Regions from separate parts of the Homo sapiens genome. Here regions 2, 3 and 4 are each linked to region 1. The links are contacts of gene promoters, found by promoter capture Hi-C in human tissues and cell types (Jung and others, 2019). All regions are on one chromosome and are shown on one strand. The core of a region is centred on a gene start or on the middle of the fragment in contact, and the rest is flanking DNA. Distances in the headings are between cores, read along the strand shown. Region 1 holds the start of PRR5-ARHGAP8 (PRR5-ARHGAP8 readthrough). Region 2 overlaps LOC124905131 (a long non-coding RNA gene). Region 3 overlaps PARVB (parvin beta). Region 4 has its middle 9.3 kb from the start of KIAA0930.

Region 1 (3,586 bases), core at 300-2,799:
AGCCGCCGTGCCTGGTGGAGAACACAGCTCTTAAGACACTGTGCAGTCGTTGGGTCAGGGAGATTTCCCAACAGGAGTCCTTCCTTCACTGTTCCCACACCAGCCCTCCCCACAGGGAGGAATGCGAATACCCACTGACGGAGAGGGAAACGGAGGCAGGCATGTGACAGCCCTCTAGCAGTTTGCAACTCAGAGACAGAAGAGACCACGTTTGAAGAGGGTCTCGCTGGCAGCCCTGAGCCCACCATGACGCTCACAATGCATTCAATGAACTGAAAATAACGTGTGTCCAAGTGACAGCCGGGTTCCCGGTGGCCAAGACCACAGCCGGTGGAGCATCTGGCAAGATTTTACTGCCAGGTGTGGGCGCGAGAGGGGCAACGTCCACAGCCTCCCCCGAACAGTGTCCACAGCCTCCCCCGAACAGTGTCCACTGCCTCCCGCGAACAGCCTGCCTCACTTTCTCCTGCCTCTCATTTTCCTAGGGAGCAGAGACGCTGGGGAGTTCCACTAAATAAACCGTCTCTTTTCCAGATCCCGGACTTGCTCCTCAAACAAAGCTGGGAGAAGGGGCTTCCCAGGCCCCTGCTTGTCTGGGAATGACCCCTGGAGGAGAGTCCTCTAAAGAATGCCTCGCAGCTGCCGCACCCCCTGCTGACAGCTGGAGGACAGGGGGCCTCTCAAGGGAAAGCCGAAGGGAGCTTAAAGAGACACAGGAAGCCTGCGCGACCCACCCACTGAGCCCCGAGGCTCCCGTGCTCAGCCGCAAAATGGGAAAAATACTTCCTGCTCCGTTAGCCTCCCAGGTTGTCACGAGCACCGCAGTGGAGACGTGGAAAGACCCCGGGTAGGAGGCGGGCACGCGGCTTCCCGGCCCACCCCGCCGCCCACCCGCCGGGCGCTTCTGGGCCAGCCCCGGGCGCTGGCGGGCCTCGCTCCCTTCCCTGGGTTCTGGAACCACGCTGCACTGAACTTTCCTCCAGGCCCGCACCACTCCGGCGGGGCAAGTTCTTTGCAAACTGTGAAGCGCCGCGCCGCCTTCGGCAGCGTTCCTGGCTCGGGGCGGCCCCTAGCCCGCGGACGGCTCAGGGGTCCCCTCCCCCGGCTCCAGGGCCTCCGGGTGGCCGGGAGGGCGCGGCCTTACCTGTTCCAGGTGGCGTTGGCGCAGGCCCGGCGCTGCTGCGTGCCCCGCTCGTCCGCGGCGGCGGCCGGCTCTCTCTTGCCCAGGTCACTGAGGCTGGGCGAACTCATGAACTTCAACCTGCGGAGAGTCCTCATGGTGACCCGGGCCGCCTGCGCCGCGCCCACGCGCGCCCCACGCCGCGCCCTGCGCCACGCCGCACCAAGGGCCCCGGGCCGGCGATGCGCCCTCTACGCGGAAACTCCGGCGAGAGCAGGAAGCCGAGCGGTCCTGCGGGGTCCCGCCCCGGCCCCGCGCCTCCGTCTCGGGTCCCGCGCCGGCCGCCCCGCCGGGTTAATCATTGCACGGAGAGGCTCAGCGTGGAGCGCCAGGCGCGCGGCCAGCACAGACCCGGCGCAAACGGAGGCCGGGGGCGGACCCGGGGGCGGGCCCAGGGGCGGGTCTCGGCGCCCCGGGGGGCGGGGCGGGGAAGGGGGCGGGGGCATCGCGGGCGGGGCGGGGCCTCAGGCGAGGGGGCGTGTGCAAGAGGCGGAGCCGGCGTCTCCGCGGCCGCAGCTGCCACGACGCCTCGCTGGGTCTGCCCTCTGAGGACGTGCTCACCCTCCTCCCCTCTTCCGAGGGCCCCACGTGCCCACAGGAAACCAACACGCACAGGACGCAGGGCCCAAGCCCAAGCGCCCGCCCCCCGCCCAGCACTGCGGTCGCGCCCACACGATGTCCTTCGACCCCGGCCCCGGAGGTCTCCCTCCACAGCCCTCCTCGCAAAGGCTGTGCCACAGAGGTGCCTCCGTACCCCTCACCTGAACACAGGCTCCCCCACCCAGTTCTCATGAGGACTTTGGGTAGAGGCCTTCAGTCCCCTCCAGGCACCTTGGCCCAAGAACCCACTCCACCCGGGCTCAGCCTAGACCCCCTTGGACAGGGACTTCAGCATTGCCTGGCTGCCTGGAGGATTTGCTGGAGTGAGGGCTTGAAGAAGTAGAGGGTTTGCTCCTTATCTCCCACCCCCAGGTCTCTTGGATGGTAAAACCAAGCAGTTTCCCAAGTCCCTGTGGTGGGGGCAGAGTGATCCCAGTGAAGGCAGGGCACAGCCGGTGCTTCCTGCCTGCTTCGCAGAGCACTTTTAGATGTCTGATTTCACATGAACTAACATGAACTACTTCCGTGAGGTAGAGATTATTCTTCTCCCCATTTTCCAGTTGAGGACATTGAGGCTCACAGAGTGAAATAACTTGCCCAACATTGTGCCAACATTGTGCAATCAACAAATGGTAGAGTTGGGCTTCACCACAGGGAGCGTCCAGCCCCTTGAACAGGGCCCTTCCCAGTCCCCAGCTTCTGGGATTCCCACAAGGCTCACCTGACCCCTCCATCAGATGGGGGGTGACAGCCACAGCTCCAGGAGCTGGGAGGGCCCCATATAAAATGTAAGAGAGAGGTGATGGCTCATGCCTGTAATCCCAGCACTTTGGGAGGCCGAGGTGGGAGGATCACCTGAGGTCAGGAGTTCAAGACCAGCCCGGCCAACATGGAGAAACCCCATCTCTATTAAAAATACAAAATTAGCTGGGCGTGGTGGTGCATGCCCGTAATCCCAGCTACTCAGGAGGCTGAGACAGGAGAATCGCTTGAACCTGGGAGGCAGAGGTTGCAGAGAGCTGAGATCTCGCCACTGCACTCCAGCCTGGGCAACAACAGCAAAACTCCGTCTCAAAAATCATCATCATCATAATAAAATAAAATAAAAAGTAAGAGAGCCTCATGAAGAGTCTTTGTTTAGTGCAAATCAACCAGTGTCTCCTGAGTACCTCCTGTGTTCCAGACATAAATACCATCGTCTTTGGGAGACAGAGACATAAACAGACAAACTTGCTCATCAGTAAAGCGGGATGGAACGGTTCATCTCACAGGCAGCTTGGGGCCCACAGGCAGCAACAGGTGCTTTATAAACTAACTGTCAAGTGCTGTACACGTTTTCTTTTCTTTTTGAGACAGAGTCTCACTTTTTGGCCCAGGTTGAATGCAGTGGCACCACTGTGGTCACTGCAGCCTCTACCTCCTGGGTTCAAGCAACCCTCCCACGTTAGCCTCCTGAATAGCTGGGACTACAAGGCATGTGCCACCATGCCTGGCTGATTTTTTGCGTGTGTGATGGCGTTTCGCTCTTGTCGCCTGTGGAGTGCAATGGCGCAATCATGGCTCACTGCTAACCTCTGCCTCCCAGGTTCAAGTGATTCTCCTGCCTCAATCTAGTGAGTAGCTGAGATTATAGGCACCTACCACCACGCCTGGCTGATTTTTTTATTTATTAGTAGAGATGGGGTTTCACCATGTTGGCCAGGCTGGTCTTAAACTCCTGACCTCAGGTGATCCTCCCACCTCGGCCTCCTAAAGTGCTGGGATTACAAGAATGAACCACTGTGCCCGGCTCCCTGGCTAATTTTT
Region 2 (3,586 bases), core at 502-3,001, 680 kb after region 1:
GCTTTGTCCTCCAGGAGTTTGTGGTCAAGGAGAACGTGGGCACAGGACACAGTGGCCGTGTAGCGTGGCCAGCATGGAGGAGGGACAGGGACCATGTGGATGGGGTGGGGGAGAAGTGCTGTGGGCAGAGGAGGCTTGCAGGGAAGGGACATTTGACCTGGAACAAGGATCAAATGCCCTTTTCCTTTCAGTAAAGGAGGAGAAGACCCACCAGGCAGAAGAGACAGGGAGAGGACACTGGGGTGTCTTGGGGCTGCCAGCACAAAGTTCCATGAGCTGGAGGGCTCAGAACAACAGAAACGTCTTCTCTCACAGTTTGGAGAGAAATAACAAGGTCTACGGGAATTATGAGGCAGGCACGGTGGAGGAAAACCAATTGATAAATATCATCATCTCACAAGGGTCTTTGCAGATGATCAAGTGAAGATGAAGTCACCAGAGTGGGCTGTAATCCAAGATGACCGTGTCCTTGTAATACCCCTGTGTACTGGGGATTAGGATTTCAGCAGGAGGCCAGAAATCCAAATCAAGGTGTAGGCTAGGTTCATTTCCATTTGGAGGCTGCACGGGCAAATCTGTTCCCTGCATCTCTCCAGGCTCCTGGGGTTTGCCAGCAAATCTTCCATGTTCCTCGGCCTGTAGAAGCATTGCCCCGTCTCTGCCTCCGTCTCTACTAGGCCCTGTGTGTGTGTGTGTGTGTGTGTGTGTGTGTGTGTGTGTGTGTGTGTGTGTGTGTGTGAGTCTAGACTTTACAGGGACACAGTCATGTTGGATTAGAGCCCATCCTGGTGATTCATCTTCACCTCATCATCTGCAAAGACCCTGTGAGATGATGATATTTATGCATTGGTTTTCCTCCACCATGCCTGGCTCATAATTCCCATCACCCTTGTTATTTCCTCAGTGACTATAGCAATAAGCAGATCTTTTGTTACAATATTTGTTCTTTTTTCCTTGGTTCCTGAAGCAGTGTGGAAACAGCTTCAGAGCAATAAAGGGGAACGATAGTCCTGTGTTATCATGTTGGATCTTTGGAAGCAGGCTTCAGGTGTAGTTTCTCTCTCTTTCTGACCTTCTTTCTCCTTCCCTCCTTTCACCTGCTCCTTTTTCTCCCCAAGTCAGGCCATAGAAAATGAAAATATACTTGAATCTTCCCCCACCTTTCCATCTTGGAGCTGGCCGTGGAGAAATTCTCTGACCTGCCTTGTCTGACTGAGGGTCACGGGACCCCCATTTCAGGAGGAGTCCAGCCTCCCGCCCAGGAGGAAGAAATGCTATACAGACAGGCCTTGCGGGGCTTCACCACTCTGACTGATGGTGTTGAGTCATACTGTTTTTGTCCAATCACACTTCGACATGGTTGTCCAGCTTCAATTGTGCTTAGCCAATGAAGGCTCCATAAAAACCCAAAAGGGGGGCCAGGCGTGGTGGCTCACGTCTATAATCCCAGCAGTTTGGGAGGCCAAGGTGGGTGGATCGCTTGAGGTCAGGAGTTGGAGGAGTCAGCCTGGCCAACATGGTGAAACCCCGTCACTACTAAAAATACAAAAATTAGCCAGGTATGGTGGTGCATGTCTGTAATCCCAGCTACTTGGGAGGCTGAGGCAGGAGAATCGCTTGAACCCAGGAGGTGGAGGTTGCAGTGAGCCGAGATCACGCCACTGCACTCCAGCCTGGTCGACAGAGTGAGACTCAGTCTCAAAAAAAAAAAAGAAAGGACAGAGTTGGAGAAGCTTCCAAATAGCTAAACACATGGAGGTTCCTGAGGGTGGTGCACCTGGGGAGGGCAAGGAAGCTTAATGCCCCTCCTCCATCCTTGCCCTACCAGTCTCTTCCTCTGGTGTTCATCAGAAGCCTTTGTAACACCCTTTGTAATCATCCAGAAAATGTCAGTGTTGCCCTGAGTTTTGTGAGCCACTCCAGCTAATCAAACCTGAGGGGGGTAAGAATCTCAATTTATAGCCAGTCAGAAGCACAGGCAGAACTAGCTGGGGCTTGTGACTGGCATCAGAAGTGGTGGCAGGTGGCTGGATGCAATGGCTCATGCCTGAGAGCCCAACACTATGGGAGACTGAGGCCAGAGAATCACTTGAGGCTAAGAATTCGAGACCAGCCTGGGCAATATGGCAAGACCCCCTCTGTACAAAATAAAAAATTAGCTGGGTGTAATGGCATATGCCTGGGGTCCCAGCTACTCAGGAGGCTGAGCTAGGAGGATCACTTGAGCCCAGGAGGTCGAGGTTGCAGTGAGCCATGATCATGCCACTGTACTCCAGCCTGGGCAACAGAGCCAGACCCTGCCTCAAAAAAAAAAAAAAAAAAGTGGTGACTGTCTTGTGGGACTGAGCCCTCACCCTGTGGGATCTTGTGCTGTCTGCAGATGGACCATGCTGGAATTGAACTGGACTGGGGGACACCCAGCTGGCGCCGCTGCAGAACTGAGTGCCGACTTGCTGGCGGGGAGAAATCCTCAGCCCGTTCATCACAGGAGTCACAGGAGTGTTGACACTTGTGGTGTGAGAGAAGAGGAAAGGCAGTTTGATTTTTCCATACAACCCTACCTCCAAATAATGTCCCAGTCACAGTACTGGGGATTAGGATTTCAGCATCTTTTGGGAGTGCTATGTATTGGATATTTGACTCCAAATATCTAAACCCCATATTGAAATTCAATCCCGTGTTGGGAGTCGGGCCTGATGGGGGGTGTGTGGGTCCTGGGGAGGATCCCTCATGGTTTTGTGCCATCCTCATAGTAATGAGTGAGTTTGCACTCTGTTAGCTCCCTTGAGAGCTGGCCGTCCCCCGCACTTTCTTGCTTCCTCTCTTGCCCTGTAATCTCTGTGCATGTGGCTCCATTGCTCCTTTTGCCAGGAGAAGCAGCCTGCGGCCCTCACCCGTGCAGATGCTGTGCCATGCTGCTTGTGCAGCCTGCAGAGCCGTGAGCGACAAAACCTCTTTTCTTTATTAATTACCAGCTTCAGCCGGGCACGGTGGCTCATGCCTGCAATCCCAGCACTTTGAGAGGCCGAGGCCAGCAGTCCACCTGATGTCAGCAGTTTGAGGCTAGACTGGCCAACATGGTGAAACCCTGTCTCTACTAAAAATACAAAAATTATCTGGGTGTCATGATGCATGCCTGTAATCCCAGCTACTCGGGAGGCTGAGGCAGGAGAATCACCTGAACCCGGCAGGCGGAGGTTGCAGTTAGCCAAGATCATGCCATTGCACTCCAGCCTGGGCAACAGAGAAAGACTCCATCTCAAAAATAAAAAAATAAAAATAGGCCAGGCGTGGTGGCTCACGCCTGTAATCCCAGCACTTTGGGAGGCCGAGGCGGGCAGATCACCTGAGGTCACAAGTTCGAGACCAGCCTGGCCAACATGGTGGAACCCTGTCTCTACTAAAAATACAAAAATTAGCCAGGTATGGTGGCAGGCGCCTATAATCCCAGCTACTGGGGAGGCTGAGGCAGGAGAATCGCTTGAACCTGGAGGTGGAGGTTGCAGTGAGCCAAGATCATGCCATTGCACTCCAGCCTGGGGGACAAGAGCGAGACTTTGTCTCTAAATAAATAAATAATAAAAAT
Region 3 (3,586 bases), core at 813-3,312, 640 kb after region 1:
ATGTGGCAACAGAGAGCACATCGGCTCGGCCAGAACTGGGAATCCGAGCTGGCCTGGTCATTGAGAGCTTCTCACATGCCCTGGAGGAAGTCATCTCCCAACTCATCTGTACCAGGAGCAGCTGCCTGATCCCAAGGGGCACAGACCATGCCCTCTGTGAGTGTGGACCCCCAGCACCGAGCAGGCCACGAGGAGTGAGTGAACTGGACAACCACACATACTCTGGGGATCACTGTGCCCCGGAAATCACTCCCCAACCCCACTAACCCCACACCCTGCCTGTCAGGCACCCTCTAAACCACGACGCTGAGGACGGAGACCACAGGACACACCGCAAGTGCTTGTAAAATAATAAGAAATATTCATATTGGGCCAGGCGCGGTGGCTCACGCCTGTAATCCCAGTACTTTGGGAGGCCAAGACAGGTGGATCACCTGAGGTCAGGAGTTTGAGACCAGCCTGGCCAACATAGTGAAACCCCGTCTCTAATAAAAATACAAAAATTAGCCCAGCATGATGGTGCACACCTGTAGTCCCAGCTACTCAGGAGGCTGAGGCAGGAGAATCACTTGAACCCGGGAGGCGGAGGTTGCAGTAAGCTGAGATCACACCACTGCACTCCAGCCTGGGTGACAGACCGAGACTCCATCTCAAAAAAAAAAAAAGAAAAGAAAAGAAATATTCATATTGGTCTCTGCCACCAGTCCCTGGCACACAGATCCTAAGAACCTTGTAATTTCCAGGTGCCAGGACAATCTTTTGTTCTAATATTTAGTCTTTGACCCTGGTTCCTGACACAAAGTTCCTAATCCCTTGGAATTTCCAGGGAGATAAAAGGATGTTTTATTCTAATGAGGTGACTCTTGGTGGCTCCTGGGTGGGGGCTGAGCACCAGAAAGACCCAGACACAATTAGAAGCCTGGAGCTTTCAGCTCCACACCCCCCAACCCCACCCTCCAGAAAGGGGAGAGGGGCTGGAGATTGAACTAATAACCAGACATGCCTACATGATGAAGCCTCCGTAAAAATCCCTGAACTACAGGGTGCAGAGAGCTTCCGGGTGGGTAAACACATCCAGGTGCCAGGAGGGTGGCACACCCCAACTCCAGGGCAACAGAAGCTCCTGTGCTGGGGGCCCTCCCAGGCCTCACCCTGTGTGCCTCCTCCTGTTCTGCTCACCTGCACCCTTTATCATCTCCTTTATAATAGACCAGGGAGCACAAATGCAGTGTTTCCCTGAGTTCTTTTTTTTTTTTTTCCAGACAGGGTTTTGCTCTTGTTGCTCAGGCTGGAGTGCAGTGGTGCGATCTCAGCTCACTGCAATCACCACCTCCCAGGTTCAAGCAATTCTCCTGCCTCAGTCTCCCGAGTAGCTGGGATTACAGTGCCCACCACCATGCCCAACCAATTTTTGTATTTTTAGTAGAGATGGGGTTTCACTATGTTGGCCCGGTTGGTCTCGAACTCCTGACCTCAAGCAATCCACCTGCCTTGGCCTCCCAAAGTGCTGGGGTTACAGGCTTGAGCCACCGTGCCTGGCCCATTTCCAAGTTCTGAGTCCCAGCAAATTAATCAAAACCGAGGAAGCAGTCGTGGGGACCCTGATTTGGGGTGCAGTCTCGTGGGGCTGAGCCCTCACCTGTGGGGTCTGAGGCTCTCTCCAGGTCGATGGTGTCAGAATTGAACTGAACTGCAGGACACCCAGCTGGTGTCTGCTGGAGAACTGCCAGGTGCGGCAGGAAGCATCCCTGCACCTCTGGTGTCAGAAGTCTTACCCTGGGCAGTATGTGAGCAGAGGGAAGGAACAGTTTGCAGGTTCCTCCTACAGTGCTAAACAAATAATTGTCAAAGTACAGTCAATCGCCTTGATTCATGGATTCTGTATGTGTAAATGTGTCTACTGGCTAAAATTTGTAAGCTCAGAATCAATACTCTTGGCCTACATTCATTCACAGACCTGCACACAGAAGCAAAGAATCTGACTGGGTGTGGTGGCTCACACCTGTAATCCCAGCACTTCGGGAGGCCAAAGCGGGTGGATCGCCTGAGGTCAGGAGTTCGAGACCAGCCTGACCAATATGGTGAAACCCCGTCTCTACTAAAGATACAAAAATTAGCTGGGTGTGGTAGTGCGCACCTATAGTCTCAGCTACTCGGGAGGCTGAGGCTGGAGAATTGCTTGAACCCAGGAGGCAGAGGTTGCAGTGAGCCGAGATTGCACCACTGCACTCCAGCCTGGGTGACGCAGTGAGACTCCACTCAAAAAAAAAAGAATCTGAGTTGCCGGATGTGTCCCCACCTGAGGTCAAACACGGGGCGCTCTGCCTTCTTGTCTGAGGTCTCACATCATAAACAAGTGTCCATTTCATGGTCTATTTAATGCCATGTTTTTCACATTTTTCTGCTATTTGTTGGTGACTTCACTGTTTTGGTTTGTTTTGTTTTGTTTTGTTTTGTTTTGTTTTTGAGATGAAGTCTTGCTCTGATGCCCAGGCTGGAGTACAGTGACGTGACTTCGGCTCACTGCAACCTCTGCCTCCTGGGTTCAAGCAATTCTCCAGCCTCAGCCTCCTGAATAGGTGGGATTACAGAAGCACACCACCATGCCCAGCTAATTTTTTTGTACTTTTAGTAGAGACTGGGCTTCCCCATGTTAGCTAGGCTGGTCTCGAACTCCTGACCTCAGGTGATCTGCCTGCCTCGGCCTCCCAAAGTGCTGGGATTACAGGCATGAGTCACCGTGCCCAGCCAACTTTGCTGTTTAAAATGGGTCCCCACGCGTGGCGAGGGGTACTCCTAGTGTTCCCAAGTGCAAGAAGGCTGAGGTATGCCTTGCAGAGAACGCACAGGTCAGAGAAGCTTCATTCAGGCAGCACTTATACTGCTGTTGGCCGTGAGCTCAATGTTAATCAATCAACAATACATTTTAAATAACGTATCTTTAAAAAGAAACATATATAAGAAAAAGTTATGTATGGATCTGTTGCTGAAAATGTTGTGACCAGAGGCTCGCAGGAACCGAGCGCTGTACTGCCCTAGGAGTGATGGCTCAGTATTGGCTAACTTGGGGTTTGTGGCAACTTTATAGATCAAAACCACCATGAATAATGAGAACTGGCTGAGTTTAAGAAGGAATGAACTAAACCCAGCACCCCACTCCAGCCGGCTGATTAGACCTCTTCCCATCCTGCTTGTTTTCCCTTCTTGAGCAACATCAAACTATGAGACCTCTCCTTCGCCTGTGCCCAAAGAACCCGGGTGTATTCCACCTTTTGTCCAGATATTAATGCCGAATGTAGTTGGGTTACTAGATGACATTTACCCAGTTAAGTCCCATCAGGTATAACTCACCCTAAGCTCCGGTTGCCCCACTACCTGACCTGACACACCAGGATTTTTAGAACCTCAAAGCTCCCAGCTTCCACCATCTTTCCACCAGCAAGTTCTTCTGGCTCAATCTCCCTTTCTGCTGCTCAAACATTTAAAAGTTTCCTATTGAAAACGATTCCCTTGCCTCAGATCTTGGGACTAAAGATGGTCCTGTGACAATCAACCATGAAATTCTTTTCTTTTCTTTTTTTTAGAA
Region 4 (3,586 bases), core at 174-2,673, 550 kb before region 1:
AACTGTGAGAGAATAAATGTCTGTTGGCTTAAGCCAGCAGTTTGTAGTGACTGGTTACGGCGGCCACAGGAAACTGACACTCACCCAGCTCACGTTTCTAATTTTTTTTTTTTTTTTTTGAGGCGGAATCTCACTCTGTTGCCCAGGCTGGAGTGCAGTGGAGCCACCTCGGTTCACTGCAACCTCCGCCTCCCAGGTTCAAGTGATTCTCCTGCCTCAGCCTCCTGAGTAGCTGGGACTACAGGTGTGCACCCCTACACCTGGCTAATTTTTGTATTTTTAGTAGAGACGGGGTTTCACTATGTTGGCCAGGCTGGTCTTGAACTCCTGACCTCAGGTGATCCACATGCCTCAGCCTCCCAAAGTGCTGGGATTATAAATGTGAGCCACTGTGCCCAGCCTCGGCTCATGTTTCTGAAGCACCATAAATACTCCTTGGTCATGACTCCCAGGATTGAAGGTCTATACAACAGCCTGGGGCTTCCAGATGTGCCCAAACTTTCCCATCCAGCCCTTATCCGTGGCTCCCATGATGCACCACTGCTCCATCGCCCACGTAGGAAAGGGCGGCACTGGGTGGGAACAGGTGTGGGCTCTTCACTAAGTAGGTGCTAAACACATCAATATAACTGAAGTGAGGCCAGATATACAAGTACAGTCACCGCCTTCTTCTCAGCGCTTACCACGGGCACAACCCCCTGGCTTCGTGGCCTTGAGTAAGCCACTCGGCATCTCCACTCCCTGCAAAATGTTGTCAAAAGGTGAGCCTCAATGTTCTCACCTATAAAATGGGGATGATAACAGTACAATCCGGGCCATGTGCAGTGGCTCACGCCTGTCATCCCAGCACTTTGGAGGTGGATGCAGGCAGATTGCTTGAGCCCAGGAGTTTGAGACCAGCCTGGGCAATATGGCGTGACCCTGTCTCTACTAAAAATACAAAAATCTGCCTGGTGTAGGGGTGTGAGCCCGTTGTCCCAGCTCCTCGGAGGGGTGCTGAGGTGGGAGGATCACTTGAGCCTGGGAGGCAGAGGTTGCAGTGAGCTGTGGACTGCACTCCAGCATGGGCGACAGAGTGAGACACTGTCTCAAAAACAAAAACAAGGCCGGGTGCGGTGGCTCACGCCTGTAATCCCAGCACTTTGGGAGGTGGGTGGGTCAGGAGATTGAGACCATCCTGGCTAACACGGTGAAACCCCATCTGTACTAAAAATACAAAAAATTAGCCGGGCGTGGTGGCACGCGCCTGTAGTCCCAGCTACTTGGGAGGCTGAGGCAGGAGAATCGCTTGAACCTGGGAGGCAGAGGTTGCAGTGAGCCAAGATTGCGCCACTGCACTCCAGCCTGGGCGACAGAGCGAGACGCCGTCTCTAACAAAAACAAAACCCAAAAATACCCAGTACAATCCTGCAGTTAATTTAGGGGGATTAAAGGGGGATTAAAGAGACCTCGGCATACCACTGAGTGTTATTAAGAAGTGCTGTCTTTTCCCTTCTCTGGAGACGCTATCCCTCCAAGTGAGCAATGAGTTGTTAATTTTTCTTCTTTCTTTCTTTTTTTTTTTTAAGATGGAGTTTCACTCTTGTTGCCCAGGTTGGAGTGCAATGGCGCCATCTTGGCTCACTGCAACCTCTGCCTTCCAGGTTCAGGTGATTCCCATGCTTCAGCCTCCCAAGTAGCTGCGATTACAAGCGCCCACCACCATGCCTGGATAATTTTTGTATTTTTAGTAGTGACAGGGTTTCACCATGTTGGCCAGGCTGGTCTTGAACTCCTGACCTCAGGTGATCCACTCCCCCTCAGCCTCCCAAAGAGCTGGGATTACAGGCGTGAGTCACTGCACCTGGCCTAATTTTCTTCTTTCATCAATAGTTACCTTCCACGTGTGGGCCCCACCATCCATGTGGGCTGGAGGACAGAGCCATTTCCAGGCATTTGTTGGCCTGAGTCACTCTAGCTTTCAGAGGCTCAGCCTATATCATCTGCAACATGAATGCACCCTTATCAAAATGTTTCCCCTGAAAAATTCTGAAAAGATTTCAGGCCAGGCACAGCGGCTCATGCCTGTAATCCCAGCACTTTGGGAGGCCAAGGCGGGTGGATCACAAGGTCAGGAGATCGAGACCATCCTGACTAACACAGTGAAACCCAGTCTCTACTAAAAATACAAAAAAAAAAAAAAAAAAAAAATACCCGGGTGTGTTGGCGGGCGCCTGTAATCTACTAGGGAGGCTGAGGAAGGAGAATGGCGTGAACCTGGGAGGCGGAGCTTGCAGTGAGCTGAGATAGCGCCACTGCACTCCAGCCTGGGTGACAGAGTGAGACTCCGTCTCAAAAAAAAAAAAAAAATCTGAAAAGATTTCTATAATTTTGCCTTTGAATTTTCTTGGCTACGTGACTCTGCCTTTGCTAATCTTGGAGAAGGTACATAACCTCTGTATGCCTCGGTTTCCTCATGCATAAAACAGGAATAATGATGGCTCTTAAGTCATAGAATTCAGTGTGTTGACATATGTAAATTCATAACACCACGCCCAGCAGAGGTAAGTCCTGAATACACGTTTGCCAAATAAACTAAAATACCAGTAACTTTCAGTTTCTGATTTCTCGTCGACCATCTGGAACTCTCAGAATTCTTGCTACGTGAGAAAATCTAACCCACAAAGAGTTTTCAAATGTAGTAAAACTTTTATAAATACCAAATCGAAAAGATGACATAATCTTCCATCTTGTAGGTATTTAATGAAATGTCTATTAATTTTAATTTTGCCATTTTATTTTTGCATTTTACAGTAGTACACAATGTTAATTATTAACACAGTGTTCATCGCCCCTCAAAATTCTGTGAGCTCCAGCCCTGTGAGCCTAACCAATAACCTAGCATCAGCAGGGGCAGAGGTCACACAGATGCCTCCAAGGGGGCTGATTCTGAGATGACCAAATGGAGGCAATGACCAGACCTATTGCCCAGTCCCACCTGGCTCTGCTCACCAAAGCTTTGGGGGTGGGGAGATGCCAGGGAGCTGTGCTAGCAGAAGTCAAAAGGTTCTGTCCAGAGACAGGTAGGTCAGGTTCACCTGGATCACAGCCATGACCAGGCAGGAGGCAGAGGGTGCCAAGGCTGTGTGTTCATGGACAAGGGGAACATCTTCTGAACTGGAGCCTCAGGGGGCAGGAAAAGGGGAGCAGGCTCTCCAGCTCTCCCTGCCCTGGCCCACCCTACCTGTTCTCCCATGATGTTGGGGCTGGAAAGGCCCAAGGGGATATCTAGTTTAGCCTCCTTCTCATTGACAGATGGAGCAGGGCGCTGGAGCAGAAGGGATCTGCCTGTTTCAGGCTGCGCTGGTTTCAGGTGCCCCTGCCCTGGAGCACCCTGCATCTCCACTCCACTTCCCAGCAATGAAGCTGTCCTGTGTTGCATGACATAGGTTTTCTTCCTTCAAAACAGCATTCCAGGGCTGCGCGCGGTGGCTCATGCCTATAATTAATCCCAGCACTTTGGGAGACGGAGGTGGGTGGATCACTTGAGGTCAGGAGTTCGATACCAGCCTGGCCAACATGGTGAAACCCCGTCTCTACTAAAAAC

The links. Contacts are between HindIII fragments. The study calls those that stand out against the background at their distance.
Region 2: a contact is called between a fragment that was not itself captured here and the fragment with the promoter of PRR5-ARHGAP8 in region 1, in 3 of the 25 tissues and cell types used here (IMR-90 fibroblasts, mesenchymal stem cells and spleen).
Region 3: a fragment that was not itself captured here is called in contact with the fragment with the promoter of PRR5-ARHGAP8 in region 1 in 2 of the 25 tissues and cell types used here (IMR-90 fibroblasts and lymphoblastoid cells).
Region 4: a fragment that was not itself captured here is called in contact with the fragment with the promoter of PRR5-ARHGAP8 in region 1 in 1 of the 25 tissues and cell types used here (spleen).

What each region holds. Positions count from the first base shown.
Region 1 is chr22:44,700,167-44,703,752 of GRCh38, reverse strand. It overlaps PRR5-ARHGAP8 (PRR5-ARHGAP8 readthrough), which reads right to left and starts at 1,549. Exons shown (of 15, transcript NM_181334.6): 1 at 1,145-1,549. The coding sequence starts at 1,278. It overlaps PRR5 (proline rich 5), which reads right to left and starts at 1,549. Exons shown (of 8, transcript NM_181333.4): 1 at 1,145-1,549. The coding sequence starts at 1,278. RefSeq lists a silencer at 1,266-1,675. The HindIII fragment of the contact is 17,168 bases long and covers 1-3,586 here.
Region 2 is chr22:44,018,913-44,022,498 of GRCh38, reverse strand. LOC124905131 (a long non-coding RNA gene) reads left to right here. Exons shown (of 2, transcript XR_007068125.1): 1 at 1-1,048; 2 at 2,381-3,586. It also overlaps a transcript of PARVB not described here. Among named protein-coding and RNA genes, the nearest start is that of PARVB, 3.6 kb to the left of the region's middle. The HindIII fragment of the contact is 3,129 bases long and covers 187-3,315 here.
Region 3 is chr22:44,060,311-44,063,896 of GRCh38, reverse strand. The region is part of intron 1 of PARVB (parvin beta); the gene reads right to left. Among named protein-coding and RNA genes, the nearest start is that of PARVB, 38 kb to the right of the region's middle. The HindIII fragment of the contact is 5,255 bases long and covers 1-3,586 here.
Region 4 is chr22:45,248,412-45,251,997 of GRCh38, reverse strand. No RefSeq gene overlaps it. Among named protein-coding and RNA genes, the nearest start is that of KIAA0930, 9.3 kb to the right of the region's middle. RefSeq lists an enhancer at 2,317-2,366. The HindIII fragment of the contact is 6,006 bases long and covers 1-3,586 here.